4 separate regions of the Homo sapiens genome follow, and all the other regions are linked to region 1. The links are contacts of gene promoters, found by promoter capture Hi-C in blood cells and fetal thymus (Javierre and others, 2016). All regions are on one chromosome and are shown on one strand. The core of a region is centred on a gene start or on the middle of the fragment in contact, and the rest is flanking DNA. Distances in the headings are between cores, read along the strand shown.

Region 1 (3,506 bases), core at 674-3,173:
AAGAAATAATTCCAAGTTGCAATTTGGAGTCCCAAGGAGCATTAGGGTGGTCAGTAAAAAGTCTAAAAACAAACTGTTATATACAAATACAAGTTTTGGAAGGTTAAGTTTTTATGTATCACTGGAATGTATATGTCTAGCAACATTCTTGAGATATATGGCTCCAAAAAGTCTGCGAAAAAAGGGATGTAGATTTTGAAATTGAATAGTTGAAGTAATGTCACAGAGAGCACAAAGAACAAATGACCAAGAACTAAGTCCATGAGACACCCTTAGTTATAGAAGAAAAAAACCTTCTTGAATGAATAATACAGTTTCAACCCATTAGTAGGATATAATCATGTTTTCTATTCTTTTAATAGATTACAGGCGCAGGCCTGTAATCCCAGCTACTCTGGAGGCTGAGGCAGGAGAATCGATTGAACCCGGGAGGCGGAGGCTGCAGTGAGCCAAGATCGTGCCACTGCACTCCAGCCTGGTAGAGACTGAGACTCCATCTCAAAAAAAAAAAAAAAAAAAAGTGTATTTAGAACGAAGATTAAAATCCTGGCCTGACTTCTAAACCAATGCGATTTCTTCTGGGCCTATTCAATTAGTTCTAACGGGTAAGAGAAAGGAGGAGGAAGAACACTGCCCAAGGCTTTAAGATAGAGAACTGCTGGTTCTATTACATGTGGGGAAAGAGATGAATGATAGATAAAAATGCAGATGTAAAAGTTTTAAATAATAACCAGGTCTGGACAGTGTATCATAGGTGGATATTAGAGAGAGGTGACTATGGATACTAATGAATTGAAACACGAAGCCCTTACAAAAAGTGTGGGCAGACTAGGCTACATAACTACGTTTCTCATCTGCCCAGTAACTTGTCTTGGGATGTGGAATGACGCAAGGAACGAAACTTTCCTCTGCTTAGACTACTATACCACAGAATCCTGGTAAACCAATTGGAAGCAAGGAGGTGAGGGCTAGAATATCATTCAAAAAGAGCAAAAGAAAATGAGTACTACCGGCCGGGCACAGTGGCTCACGCCTCTAATCCCAACACTTTGGGAGGCCGAGGCGGGCGGATCACTTGAGGTCAGGAGTTCGAGACCAGCGTGGCCAACATGGTGAAACCCCATCTGAACTAAAAATACAAAAAAATTAGCCGGGCGTGGTGGCACCTGCCTGTAGTCCCAGCTACTCCAGAGGCTGAGTCAGGAGAACTGTTTGAAGGCGGGAGGCAGAAGTTGCAGTGAGCCGAGGTCGCGCAACTGCACTCCAGCCTGGGCGACAGAGCGAGACTCCGTCTCAAAAAAAAAAAAAAAAAGAAAGAAAAATGAGTACTACCATCCCAGGATGTCAAATCAACGCAAAGCCAACCAAGCCACCTTCCTTCAAAAGCATCTTTCACCCCTCTCTGCTTTCTACATCCACTCTGGGCCCCTTACCCTCATTCCACGGAGTCCCAACCTATCGATTTACTACTTCTCCACTTCCTGTCCCAAACTACCTTGACTGTCTCCAGACTGGCCCCTTCCAGCACCACAATAAGCCTACGGCCTCCGATCTTGTTTCCTGCCCCTAGTCGGGGCCGCTTGGGTGGCAGAGCATCCCAGTCCTGTGCCTGCTCCCCACCGCTTCGTTCACGAGGCTTGAATCCATCACTGGGCGCGGCCATCTTGCAACAATACCGGAAGTTGCGCTAACGCTCTTAAATAAGAACAGCGCGGCTTCTAATCACAAATTTCCTTCCGGCTGCCATTTTGAAAGTGGGCCAGGAAATGGAGATGACTTGCTGTCTTGCGCTGCCCTCCCTGGGAGGGCAGCCTTCCAGAAAGGGGCGGGACTTCCGTATGCGCGATTCCTGTGCGCGAAGTTCGGGTCCGTAGTGGGCTAAGGGGGAGGGTTTCAAAGGGAGCGCACTTCCGCTGCCCTTTCTTTCGCCAGCCTTACGGGCCCGAACCCTCGTGTGAAGGGTGCAGTACCTAAGCCGGAGCGGGGTAGAGGCGGGCCGGCACCCCCTTCTGACCTCCAGTGCCGCCGGCCTCAAGATCAGACATGGCCCAGAACTTGAAGGACTTGGCGGGACGGCTGCCCGCCGGGCCCCGGGGCATGGGCACGGCCCTGAAGCTGTTGCTGGGGGCCGGCGCCGTGGCCTACGGTGTGCGCGAATCTGTGTTCACCGGTGAGCAACCTCCGCCTGCTCGCCGGACGCTTCCAGTCCCTCCCCCAAACCCCTTGCCCTGTCCCCGCGCCCCTCCACGGGCCTAGCATTTCCTCTGAGCAGCGGCCTGGCCTGATCACCACCCATCTCCCCACAGTGGAAGGCGGGCACAGAGCCATCTTCTTCAATCGGATCGGTGGAGTGCAGCAGGACACTATCCTGGCCGAGGGCCTTCACTTCAGGTAATGGCGGGCAGAGCCTGCTGACCCTGACCTTTCACCCTTGACGCCGACCCAGCAGTGGCTATAGTCGGACGTGCAACAGGATTCAACGCTGCTCTTTTCCCACCCTCCTCATCCCTGCCCCTAGGATAGTGGGTGCTGCGAGAACCTCCAGCAGCATACAAACTGTTGTTTTCCAGAGGGACAAGAGAATCTCTCCTTGTCTGTGGTCGTGGAGAGGAGCAGGCCAAAAAACGCGTGGTGAGGGGAAACCGGGCAAGGCTAGTGAAACTGCGGCCTTTTCTTTTTTTTTTTTTGGAGAGGGAGTCTTGCTCTGTCGCCCAGGCTGGAGTGCAGTGGCGCGATCTCGGCTCACTGCAACCTCCGCCTCCTGATTTCAAGCGATTCTCCTGCCTCAGCCTCACGAGTAGCTGGGATTACAGGCGCCCGCCACCACGCCCGGCTAATTTTTGTATTTTAGTAGAGACGGGGTTTCACTATGTAGATCAAGCTGGTCTCGAACTCCTGACCTCAAATGATCCGCCCGCCTCGGCCTCCCAAAGTGCTGGGATTACAGGCGTGAGCCACCGCGCCCGGCCGAAACTGTGGCCTCTTAATACCTATCCCTGTCCTCTCCAGGATCCCTTGGTTCCAGTACCCCATTATCTATGACATTCGGGCCAGACCTCGAAAAATCTCCTCCCCTACAGGCTCCAAAGGTAGGTCTGAGCACTTGGTAATCACATGGCAGGTGGGATGATCAAGGTAGCTGGCAAGAAACCCCAGGGGAATATGGTAGTGTCAGGCCTTTAGGCCTCTTTCCACATCTGCAAGAGCTGTAACAAAAATACCTGCCTCCTGGGGTCAAAGCAGCAAATTCTGAACACACTGTGTTTGCGTGCTTTTTACTGTCTCCTCCCTGACGTGTATTCAATAAGAGTATTGTTTGTCCCTCGTCTTGTTCACTGCCTAGATCAAAGCTTTGTTTTAAAGCCTTTTTTTTCTAACTGCTTGACTTACTATATCTACAGTTACATCCACTAGTACACTCTGTTCTGGAGAAGTTTGTCCCTAAGCTTGACTAGTTCACCTGTTCTCTCCTTCTAGACCATACATAAAAGCCGTGCCTTTGAGTT
Region 2 (3,506 bases), core at 704-3,203, 180 kb before region 1:
CGGTTGTTTTCAGGGACAGCAAGGAAGAAGGGAGCCAGTCCCAGAAAAATAAAATAAAATAAAATAAGAGACAGTGTAGGTGGTGGCCGTTGCACAAGGAGAGGAAGCCAGACTGAATCCCTGGGGGCATCAGAGGAGCTGGCCTCAGTCAGAAAACCCTGGGAAGCCCCTCAGGGGCTCCCCCTAATTATATGCAACTCTAAAGTAATAAGACTAATCTTTTTTAAAGCATCAAACATCTGGGGAGAAGGGTGAGGGCCATGGTTAGTGCACAGACTGGAATCATGCCTCCTGGATTTAAATCCTGGCTCCACTTACTTTCTAGCTGCGTGAACTTGGGTAAGGCACTTGAACTCTCTGTGCCTCTGTGTCCTTGCCTGTAAAGGGGATAATTCTGGTACCCATTTCATTGGTTGTTTATGATGGCTAAATGAGTTAATAAGCGTAATCCCCCGAGCACAGTGCCTGGCACATGATGAGAGCACCCTGTGTTTGTTATAATTATTATTACCCATCACATATATTGAAATAAGTTCTGTACTTTCACATAGTGTTCAGAGACCACAAATTTCTTCCCAGAAAGCACTAGTGGACTCCTTTGAGAATTGCCTTCAATTCTCAAAAGCCTGTGACACAACCTTTTGACTCTTTTCAAAGGTGACCGATCTATGGCCTTTGAGAGTGGGTTTAATGTTTAAAAACTTAAAATTATATCCAGATTCAACTTTGGCAAAACTGGGTGATGAAGTTGAGTAACACTGAACAGGGTCAAAAGCAAGTTATGTCCAAAAAATAACAAAAATAAATGCACCTCATAAATTGGCTCTGAAAGCAATTCTAAGAAGGGGTTCCAAAAATCACTTTCAACAACATCAGCATCATTTGCAATTTTTAATAATGTGGGAAAATACTTGTTTTATAATATGAAGTGTAAATATCAGGTTACAAAATAGGCTAATCCTAACTTTCTAAAAAGGAAAAATTAAGCATAGAAAAAAGACTGGAACAGAATACTCATATTATCAGTGGTTTCCTCTCTGACGGAATTATGGCTGAGTTTTCCTCGTCTTCTTCTTTCTTTTTTTTTTTTTTTTTTCCTTTGAGACAGAGCCTTGCTCTGTCTCCCAGACTGGAGTGCAGTGGTGTGATCATGGCTCACTGCAGCCTTGGCCTCACAGGCCCAAGAGATCCTCCTACCTCAGCCTCCCAAGTAGCTGGGACTACAGGCACCTGCCACCATGCCCAGCTAATTTTTTTTATTTTTTGTAAAGACAGAGTCTCACTGTGTTGCCCAGGCTGGTCTCAAACTCCTGGACTCAAGTGAGCCTCCTGACTCAGCCTAGTGTGTTGGGATTACAGGCATGAGCCACTGTGCCTGGCCTGATTTTTCTTCTTTAAAAGAAATATTTGATATTTTCTGGTTTTTCTACAATTACGCAACTCAAAAGTTGAAAATAAAATTGCACCATTCGTAAAGGACCATGACCGGGAACCTTTGGGACCACGGCCAGGTTGCTTTGAAGGGCAGCTTTGAAGGGCAGCACTCCATCTGAATGTAACGCTTTGCATATTTGCATATATTTTTTAGAAATATTCTTGTGACTGCATACGTAGCACATAATTTTACATGTAATAGTACCAATTCTCTCCTTGGGGATAGGGACTGATCTATCCTATAAATCATTTAGATCATCTTAGGACAGTGCTAGTACATAGTAGGTGCTTAGTAAATACTTGATAGTTTCACCACAGAGGATCCTAGGTCCAGGGCTAATTTGATATTGCTTGGGGCTGGGGAAGGAGGCATCATCAGGTATAACAAACACGCCTAAACCCACACTGACTTTATGACTGCAGGCATAAGCATCCCTACAATGACACAAGGCTCATGTTCTTCACAAGGGAAAGTGAATGATCCAAAGGGAGAGAGGGATTGGTCCATAGCTGTCAACTAAGGCAGGTACCACAGGGAACAGAACCCATTGCTCCACCTACCTTGTCCTCTCCCAGAGGTGGAGGGGGAGGATACCTGTCCCAACACACTCACCTGCCACCTGCCCCTCCCTGCCCAGCCCCACCAGGCTTACGTACTGGAGTTTCTGTGGGAGCTGGCTAGGCTGTGTCCAGCCATCTCAGGCGGGGGCTGGTGACCACGGTGCAGGAACTGCTGGGAGCTGAGCACGTGGCTGGGGTGGGCAACCCGGTTCATGCTGTGCAGGACATTGACCTGGGCAGAGGGAGGGCTCCATGGGCACACACGCTTCTCCCAGGTCCTCCCCACTTCTCTAGACCCCAGCCCCATCTCCTAACTACTGCCCCCATCTCCTTCTCCTCCACCCACTGCAAGGTCCAGCAGCCCTCCACGCTGCCATGTCCATGCCCACCAACTAACATTTTGAGTCCATGCCACCTCAGCTCCTTTCTGGGGGTGGGTAACTGTGGAAGGAAGGAGACTCTCTGGGTACCTCCACGATGAATTCATTGCTGGAGTAACGGCCATTCATTTCCGAGCAGGAAAGCCGGAACTTCCTGGTGTAGAGGGCAGCTCCGTGTCGCAGCCGATAACGAGCCTGCCTCAGGATCTCTTCATACACAGTGATGCTCTCCACCCCTGGAGATGAGGAAGCACCTCAGGGCAGGGGCCAGTGGAGGCAGGACCTGGGCAGGACCCTCTCTCCTGGACTCCCACCAGCTGACGCCACACAAGCTGTAGAGCAGGTCAGCCCCATCTCCGCAGAAGTGCGACCTGAGGTCGAAGGGAGGGATGCTCCCCTCCATCCCTGCCCACTCTGACTAACTAGGATGGAGAGATCAAGGCTCCATTTCCTGCTCTGTAGGTTCTGAGGAGGAATGGAAAGAAGGAGATAAAGACATCCTGAAAGACAGAAAGGGAGATGGCAAGCAGGAGGGAATATGAGAAAGAGGAAAATACAGAAGTCCTCAGTGAGCCCTGGAAAGGAGTGGAAATAGAAGGGAACTGATTATCTCCATCTTCTCCATTCTCCCTCCTGGCTTCCTTTGGAAACTACCAAATCATCACTCCCACTATTCACTAAGAGATGAGTACTTCTTGTAAAGCTCTGGTGTGCACGTGAGATGAGTGAGCTGAACAACAGAGATGACCGGTAACAAACAGACAGCTAGAGGGTTAGAAAGCTGGGCAGAGATGAGCCGAAGGAGGAGAGGAAGGTGAGAAGCCTGAATGGAAACAGGAGTGGGACCAGAAGTGGAGGTGAGCCAGGCTATGGAGAGGAGCAGGAAGACAGAAGCATTCGGAGCCTAAACCCAGCACACCTTCCCTAGGGACAATCAAAGCCAGAGGATCTTCCAGGCTAGGAAAATGCAAAACGGCACTTGTCCACATCCCTGGACCTGGAAGGAGGACCCTCTGGGCTTCCTAGGCCCTTACTTTTTGGGAGGGGCACACACACACAGAGGACAGGCCCTCAGGCCCCACTGACCAGCAATAGTGAGGTAGGCAGATGTGTTGGTGAGCTCCAGCCCCC
Region 3 (3,506 bases), core at 747-3,246, 180 kb after region 1:
CGTCTGTAATGCCAGCACTTTGGGAGGCCAAGGCGGGCGGATCATTTGAGGCCAGGAGTTTGAGGCCAGCCTGTCCAACATAGTGAAACCTGGTCTCTACTAAAAATACAAAAAGTAGCCGGGCGTGGTGTTGGGCTCCTGTAATCCCAGCTACTCAAGAGGCTGAGGCAGGAGAATCGCTTGAACCCAGGAGGTGGAGGCTGCAGTGAGTGGAGATCACGTCATTGCACTCCAGCCTGGGCAAGAGAGCGAGACTCCGTCTCAAAAATAATAATAAAAAATAAAACGTGCAAGACAATTGGTCTAGCCAATTGCCCTCAGCACCACCCCGCCATTACGGCCAGGGTCAGAGCCTAGGGCTGCCCCCAAGCTCTGTCTAGCACCAGTGGTGGGAGGAGTTTTTATCTAGATATAGACCTCTCCTATGTAAGTGCTCCCACATTGAAAGAGGGAAATCATCTCCCGAGTGTCTCTAACGCTGTCCTCAGGGGCTCTTTCATCTGACTTTGAGGGCGGCGGCCATTTTGTATCAGCCTACAGCATCTGATACAGCACAAGGAATTATTGGTCAAAATGTGAAGTAGCAGTGACTTCCCCCATCAGGCCCTGCTCTTAGCCTTGCCCCGATAAAAATGTCCACCACAAGAGCAGGGCATTCAGGAAGCACTATCCCACTCAGAGTGAAATCTTTGAATTATTGAGAACAGGGCCTTTCCGTTTTGAGGGATCAGAACGTACCCCAGGAAACCTCTCTCCCAGAAGAAGCCTATGAGGGGAAAGCAGAGGACACTGGGGATAGCACGGCTTCAAGGCCATGAGGTCTCAGGGGCTGGAAAGGTCTGAGGGCGGAAAGGCTGAGATGGCACAGGGCTTCCCTTCAGGAGGGACAGTGAGTCCTCACTCTCCCTCACACCCTGCCAGGCCCAGGAGGGGCTGCACATCCTTCTGTAACTCTCCCGGCCTCATGAGACCCCTACCACCAATTCTTTTCGAATCCGTTTCTTAAATGACATATTTATCTAAAGATATGTATCTGCAACTTTTAGGGCAATTCATACGCAAAAGCTCAGTTTCAACACTTTCTGAGAATTTTAGCTTTCCTATTTCATGAATCATTTTAAAGCTAACTAGAGTAGAAGTGCCTTTAGACATTGTTCAAAAATCTTAAAAGAGCAAAGAAGCAGACAAAAATTTAAAAATACACACAGAAACACAAAAGGTAGTTAAAAGAGACTATTACATAGATCATGCGACTTATGAAATGCTGCAAGTATGATATTTGGTGTCAATTTTTGGAGATTGTCCCGTTAAGGAAAATTGGTTTTGCAAGAATTTTCTCTAGACTAGATTCCACTTCTTTTGCTCTTTTTCTTGTTTTTATGTTTTTCCTCATCATTTCTTTTTTATAGGTTTCCTCCCACCTTATATTTATTTATTCTTTCTAATTTTTTCCCTCCCCTTCTTCACTCTTTTTCTCCTCTTTTCCCCTCTTCCAGTCTTCTCCCCTCAACTGCCCACGACTAGTTGCCTTCCACGCCTTTCCCAGCCTGGGATAGTCTCCAGTCTTCACTCCCTCTCTGATCTTGCTATTTAGGTCACTACTCCTCTAAGGAGCACCCATTGCTCTGGACACTGAGCTGTGCACGCTGGGGCTGCAGAGAGGAGTCTAGCACAGTCTCTGACCTCTGGAAGCTCACAGTTCCAGTGGGAAATCGCTGCTCATGACCAGTTCCAAGAGAAATGCAAGAGAAGGTGGCCAGAGCTGTGGGCAGACAACTGGGCAGAGCACATTCCTGTGCATCTGCCCCACGTTCCCCTCCCTCTCAGCTCCGGGGAAGGAAGCCGAGTCTGACCACCTTACCTCTGGGCTTGCGTCTTTCTTGCCCGCTGCTTCTCAAACAGGCGTATCTGTGTGAGGACTTGGAGCTCTGCAACCAGGAGCCCAGTGGGGAGGGTGCTTTGTTCCTTCTGCAGAGTCGTGCTTAAATGAAGAGAGACAGGAAGCCCGATGGCAAGGCTCCTCCACACCCTAGGCCTGGGCCGGCCCCAAACGTCACCAGCTGGAGCTGGGTTCCCCACCCCCCAGGCTCTCAGGGAACATGTCAAAGTGAAAATGCCAAAGTCAAGGGAAAAAGTTAAGCAGAATCAGGCTTAAATCAGGAGTCAAACTGTCACTGCCACTGTTAAGCGGCAAGAAAAAGATGGCAAGAAAGATTCCATTAGTGGTAGCGCCATGTCTGACCAGGCTGTGGGGAAAGAAGTGGGAGGCAGTTGGGGGCATATGGGAACAGCAGTGGTAAGCCCACAAACAGCTCCTTGCTCTGGGGCCCTGAGGGCATGTGTCCAGTGGGTGCCCCAGGGGTATCTGTGGAGGCTTTATAGGTGGCCCAGTGTGGAAGAGAGGGCGTGGGCTGAGCAGAGAATATCTGAGACACCAGGAGTGACTGTTAACCAGGCTCTGTTCCTCTAGGCGTCTCTGGCCAGGCCTCAGGTGCTTTCCTCTAGCCCGAATCTACCATGAACTCTCTATGTGAGTATCCGTCTGCCCATTGGACATCTCCACTGGGAAGCTCACCGGACATAGCAAACTCAACACACATCCCCAACTATGCATACCACCTGCATACTACCACCCTCCAAACCTGCTTCTCCAGGCTTCTCACTCAGTGAGGGGCTCACCATCCACCAACTTGCCCAAGCAAAATAAATTGGGTGTAATCTTTGACACCCCCTTCACCCAACTTCTCCCACGTATTTATTTACCAGTTCCTGTGGATGTTACCTTCTAAATGGCTCCAAAATCTACCCAAGTCACTCTGCACTACCACTACTGCCACCATGCCAATCCAAGATGCCAATATCATCCCTTGCTCGGACAACAGCTCCTGCCTCCTCACTGGTCGCCATTCTCCATACCACAGCCCAAGTGATCATTTAAAGATGCACATGTGAGTGTGCGTTTTCCAGTCTGAAAAAAGTGGGGCTGGGAGTGGTGGCTCATGCCTATAATCCCAGCATTTTAGGAGGCCGAGGTGGGGGGATCGCTTGAGCCCAGGAAGTTGAGGCTGCAGTGAACCGTGATTGCACCACTGCACTCTAGCCTGAGTGACAGAGTGAGAACCTGTCTTGAAAAGAAGAAAAGAAAAGAAAAGAAAAGAAAACTCTAGTTCAGCTTGCGACTCCAACAATTAACACAAGTACCCCTATTTGACAGCATTGTACTTCATCTGTAGCATATAGTACTGTGTGCTACTTCTCATTTCATGACACACCGTACTCAAGGGTTGAGATTTAATAAAATTAGTATTTACTGCTTCATTAAAGGCATTCTATATATATATATATATATATTTTTTTTTTTTTTTTTTTTTGAGAGGGAGTCTCACTCTGTTGCCCAGGCTAGAGTGCAGTGGCGTGATCTTGGCTCACTGCAACCTCTGCCTCCCGGGTTCAAGCAATTCTCCTGCCTCAGCCTCCCAAGTAGCTGGGGCTACAGGCATGCGCCA
Region 4 (3,506 bases), core at 636-3,135, 130 kb after region 1:
GTGGGAAAGAGATGCATGCATGGCCAGAGGTGTGTTGCTTGTAAGTGTTTAACAAGCACCTCTCCAGTGTTGGTGAGGAAGGTGGGAAGGTGATTTCCACGATACGAATACTTGCACTTTGACCAGTTTCCAGCTGCCAATGTGAGGTCATTGGAAACAGATTTGGGAAGAGATGCACAGAGCTGGCTCTCCCAAGCCGAGAGGAGCCTGCTTGCACCCACCGCTGCAGCACGGCTAGCTTTTTAACTGGGTGCCTGGGGCATCACCATGACCCTGAACTGTACCTCCTGAAATCTGTGGTACTATGCCCCTTGAGCTCTAACCACATTTTAGACTTAGGCTGGGGGTCCAGAGTGAACAGACTTGATTTGCCATCACTTGCATTGCTATCTTTTTTTAAAAAGTTAAAAGCAATTTTTTTTATATTAAGAAGAGATCTCACTATGTTGCCCAGGCTGGTCTCAAACTCCTGAGCTCAAGTGATCCTTTCACGTCAGTCTCCCAAAGGGCTGGGATTACAGGCGTGAACCACTGCGCCCGGCCTGCTTTGTTATCTTGGGCAAGTTGCTTCACCTCCCTGAGTCTGTTTACTCAAGGTGTAAAATGAGGCTTATCATAGCACCTACCTTACAGAGATATCATGAAAATTCAATGAAATCAGGTATTTATGCAGCTTAGCCCAGTATCTGGCTCATAAAAAGTGTTCACTATTAACATATTTAATCCAATCTAAGATGCATCACTAAGAAAGAAAAGATGCTGTCAATTCTAATTGAAACAATGATCCATTGCTGAATGCACCTTGATTTCAGAGATGTCAAAATGTGAAGAAATGTGCATCTTAGAATTGACAAAATACAGCATAGAAAACTAGCAGCTAGAGTCTACAAGGGCTTTATAATTTACAAAGTACTATCGCTTCTTCATCTTCAAGGCCCTGGGAGGGGGCTGTGGTCACTCTTGTTCTACGGATGAGAATAGGAACCGTGTCCGCATCTTTCGCATCCAATATGGTGCCTGGCTCAGAGCAGGTCCCGCTAAAATGTTGGTCGAATGAATTAATTAATGGGTTTCCTCACTCCAAGGACGTGCTGTACTAATGCTCGGAGCAACGCGCTATTGCGGGTCGGGGAGCTCCCTTCCCCTCCCCCCATGCCCTGCCTTCCGGGGGACAGGGGGTCTTACCTCTGCCAGAGTAACGTCAGCACAGGCTTTCCTGGCATCCTGCAGGGAAAGCAGACATCAGGGGAGCAAGGGCGAGGTGGGGGTGGCAGGTGCATGGGCCTTCAGGGCAGGTTGGTCTTGGGGCTCTGGGGCTTGGGGGTCTCAAATATGCGAACCAAGTTTAGAAAGTCCCTGGTCACTTCTAGTCACTCAAGAGCAAACCCAGCCCCCTCCCCCTGGGCCACGCTCCTCATGTCCCCAGCTGTTTTCTGGGGCCCCAGGGGTAGGGCTCTGGAGTTACTGCAATCTGCTTCTTGAGCTGCTCCGCTTCCTGACGCAGTTGCTCCATCTCCCCCATGGCTGACAGGTCGAGGGGTCACTCTGGCTCCTGCCAGGAACATGGGGTCGGTGTTGAGGAACCCCCCACCAGGCTGTGCTTCTGCCCTTCGTGCCCACACCAGACTCCAAGACACAGGGAAACGACTGGGTGGCTGCACCCTCTCCCCAGCTAGGCCCTCCAAGTTTGAGGTCCTTTGCGTCCAGCCCCAGCCTGCCTGAGCCCTGCCTGCGCCCCAGCCCAGGAGAGCAGAGCCCAGGCCAGCTCCCTCTTACTTGGGCTCTGGCTGGACCTCGGCCGGGTTTCCAGCTCCGGTTCCTGGGAGCCTCCTTACTCCCTCAGCTGCGACGCCCGCGCCCGCCCGTCACCTGCCCAGGCTCTGCTGCCAGAGGAGCTGGCCTGGCCTGGCCTGGCCCCGACCGGCGGGGGGTTGGGGGGGCCTGACAGGGAAGGGTAGAGCCAACCACAACGTCAGGCAAATGAAATCAGCTGGCAGGGGTGGGGGGAAGGGGTGGGGGGAGGGAGGGAGGTGTACGGATTCCAGAGAGACTTGGGCCCAGCCGGGAGGAGGGTTGGGGGCAGGAGTGTGGGGCCATAGAGAGGGGCAGCCCCCACCACAAGCCCTGAGAGAGGAGGGGGTGAAGGGGTGCTTCCCTGGTCAGTCTCTGCAGGCAGAGATAAGAGCATCAGGCCCCACAGGATTAGAGCAAAGCTGTGAGGATTAAGGGTTGGGGTTTGGGAGGGGTGCAAAGGAGCAGACAACTACAGCTCCAGTGGCCCCCCTGGTCCCGGCCCCCATCCATGGTGATGATCTTGGCAGTCAGGGCCACTTAGCAACCAGGCCAGGAGGTGGGATATAAGGGTGATAGATGGCCCCATTGTCAGTACCTCAAACTGTGCTCCTCAGCTCAGGGTGGTGGGGAAGAGGGTTTGGTGAGTATGGGAGGGTACAGGCAGGAGCTGAGATTAGAAAGGACTGATCTGGATAATCCTTCTTCTCGACAAACCCCAACCAGCTGCCTCTGGGTCTGATCCTGTTGGGGGAGAAAGGTACAGGGGACCCACAGAGAAGGATGGACAGGTCTGCCCCTATTGTGGGCGGGCAACGGATTTCAAGTGGAGGGAAGGCCCGCACGCTGCTCCCAGGCTGGGGTCTGGCCCCCTCCTTGCCCTCTCGAGGCTGTGAAAGCAGGGGTCAGAGAGAAAGCAGGCGGCCCTAAGTCTCAGCAAAGCTCAGAGAGGGAAGACAGGGCTTACACTTGGAGGCCTAAGGAGCAGCTGCCAGGGGCTTGGGTCATTTGCATGAGGGGAGCAGGTGGCTGAGATTTCCCTGACAAATCACAGGCTCCAGGCGCCCCGCCTCTGGGAGGCCCAAAGACACCTGTCTCCTCCCAGGCCAGCCAGAGCCACCCCCACCTCCAGCCATCACAGAATCTGTGATACACTTGACTGGCCCCTGGCTGAGAGATCTTCACGACCTTTATTGCACAGACTGGGAGAGAGGAGCAGGGTTATACCTCCCAACCCCACCATCCTCTTCATTTAAAGCATCAGCCTCCTCCCCTGCCATTTCTGTTCAGGGAGGCACAGTGTTCCCCATCTGTCCAGGGCTGCAGGTCCGGCAGCGGGGCCCCGTCCCAGCTCCCCAGGCCTGGTGAGCTCCAGGCTAGCCTGTGCACTGTCCTCTGAGTCCAGGCCCTTGTAGGTCCCCAAGATGGTGGGGGTGCAGGGACAGAGAGCTTGCTGTTCTGCTCCTGATGTCACACAGGGGCTTCCTGTGTGTCCTGGCATCAAGATGGCCTTCCACAAGTCAAGTGGCCACATCCTCAAGGAGCTGGCTCAGCCACTCACAGCTCCTCCCGAACCCGAGGTGCCCTTCCAGTCTTGTCTTGGACCCTCTGGTGCCTGCGGCTAGGGGGCTCTGGGGAAGGGTCTTTGCTGGGCATTTCTTCCTCTTCCTCTTCCTCCTCCTCCTGTGACTCCTGCAGCAGTTCTTTGGCTTCTA

Evidence for each region. The method cuts DNA at HindIII sites, captures the fragments that hold promoters and counts their contacts. A CHiCAGO score of 5 or more calls a contact.
Region 2: a contact is called between a fragment that was not itself captured here and the fragment with the promoter of PHB2 in region 1, in 3 of 17 cell types (erythroblasts, M2 macrophages and total CD8 T cells). The highest score is 7.7, in erythroblasts.
Region 3: the fragment with the promoter of CD4 here is called in contact with the fragment with the promoter of PHB2 in region 1 in 3 of 17 cell types (non-activated CD4 T cells, activated CD4 T cells and total CD4 T cells); the score reaches 6.2 in non-activated CD4 T cells.
Region 4: a contact is called between the fragment with the promoter of GNB3 here and the fragment with the promoter of PHB2 in region 1, in 2 of 17 cell types (non-activated CD4 T cells and activated CD4 T cells). The highest score is 5.2, in non-activated CD4 T cells.

Annotation. Positions count from the first base shown.
Region 1 is chr12:6,969,081-6,972,586 of GRCh38, reverse strand. It overlaps PHB2 (prohibitin 2), which reads left to right and starts at 1,923. Exons shown (of 10, transcript NM_001144831.2): 1 at 1,923-2,170; 2 at 2,307-2,391; 3 at 3,010-3,089. The coding sequence starts at 2,044. EMG1 (EMG1 N1-specific pseudouridine methyltransferase) reads right to left here and starts at 1,674. Exons shown (of 6, transcript NM_006331.8): 1 at 1,496-1,674. The coding sequence starts at 1,663. RefSeq lists enhancers at 1,367-1,486, 1,537-1,716, 1,807-1,876, 1,397-1,999. The HindIII fragment of the contact is 5,065 bases long and covers 1-3,352 here.
Region 2 is chr12:7,149,649-7,153,154 of GRCh38, reverse strand. It overlaps CLSTN3 (calsyntenin 3), which reads right to left. Exons shown (of 18, transcript NM_014718.4): 14 at 3,462-3,506; 15 at 2,466-2,611; 16 at 2,092-2,227. Among named protein-coding and RNA genes, the nearest start is that of CLSTN3, 21 kb to the right of the region's middle. The HindIII fragment of the contact is 5,620 bases long and covers 1-3,506 here.
Region 3 is chr12:6,788,018-6,791,523 of GRCh38, reverse strand. It overlaps CD4 (CD4 molecule), which reads right to left and starts at 1,996. Exons shown (of 10, transcript NM_000616.5): 1 at 1,862-1,996. RefSeq lists enhancers at 2,090-2,139, 1,955-2,512. The HindIII fragment of the contact is 6,468 bases long and covers 1-3,506 here.
Region 4 is chr12:6,839,304-6,842,809 of GRCh38, reverse strand. It overlaps GNB3 (G protein subunit beta 3), which reads right to left and starts at 1,885. Exons shown (of 10, transcript NM_002075.4): 1 at 1,777-1,885; 2 at 1,466-1,552; 3 at 1,186-1,224. The coding sequence starts at 1,522. P3H3 (prolyl 3-hydroxylase 3) reads right to left here. Exons shown (of 15, transcript NM_014262.5): 15 at 2,963-3,506. The coding sequence ends at 3,349. The HindIII fragment of the contact is 12,557 bases long and covers 1-3,506 here.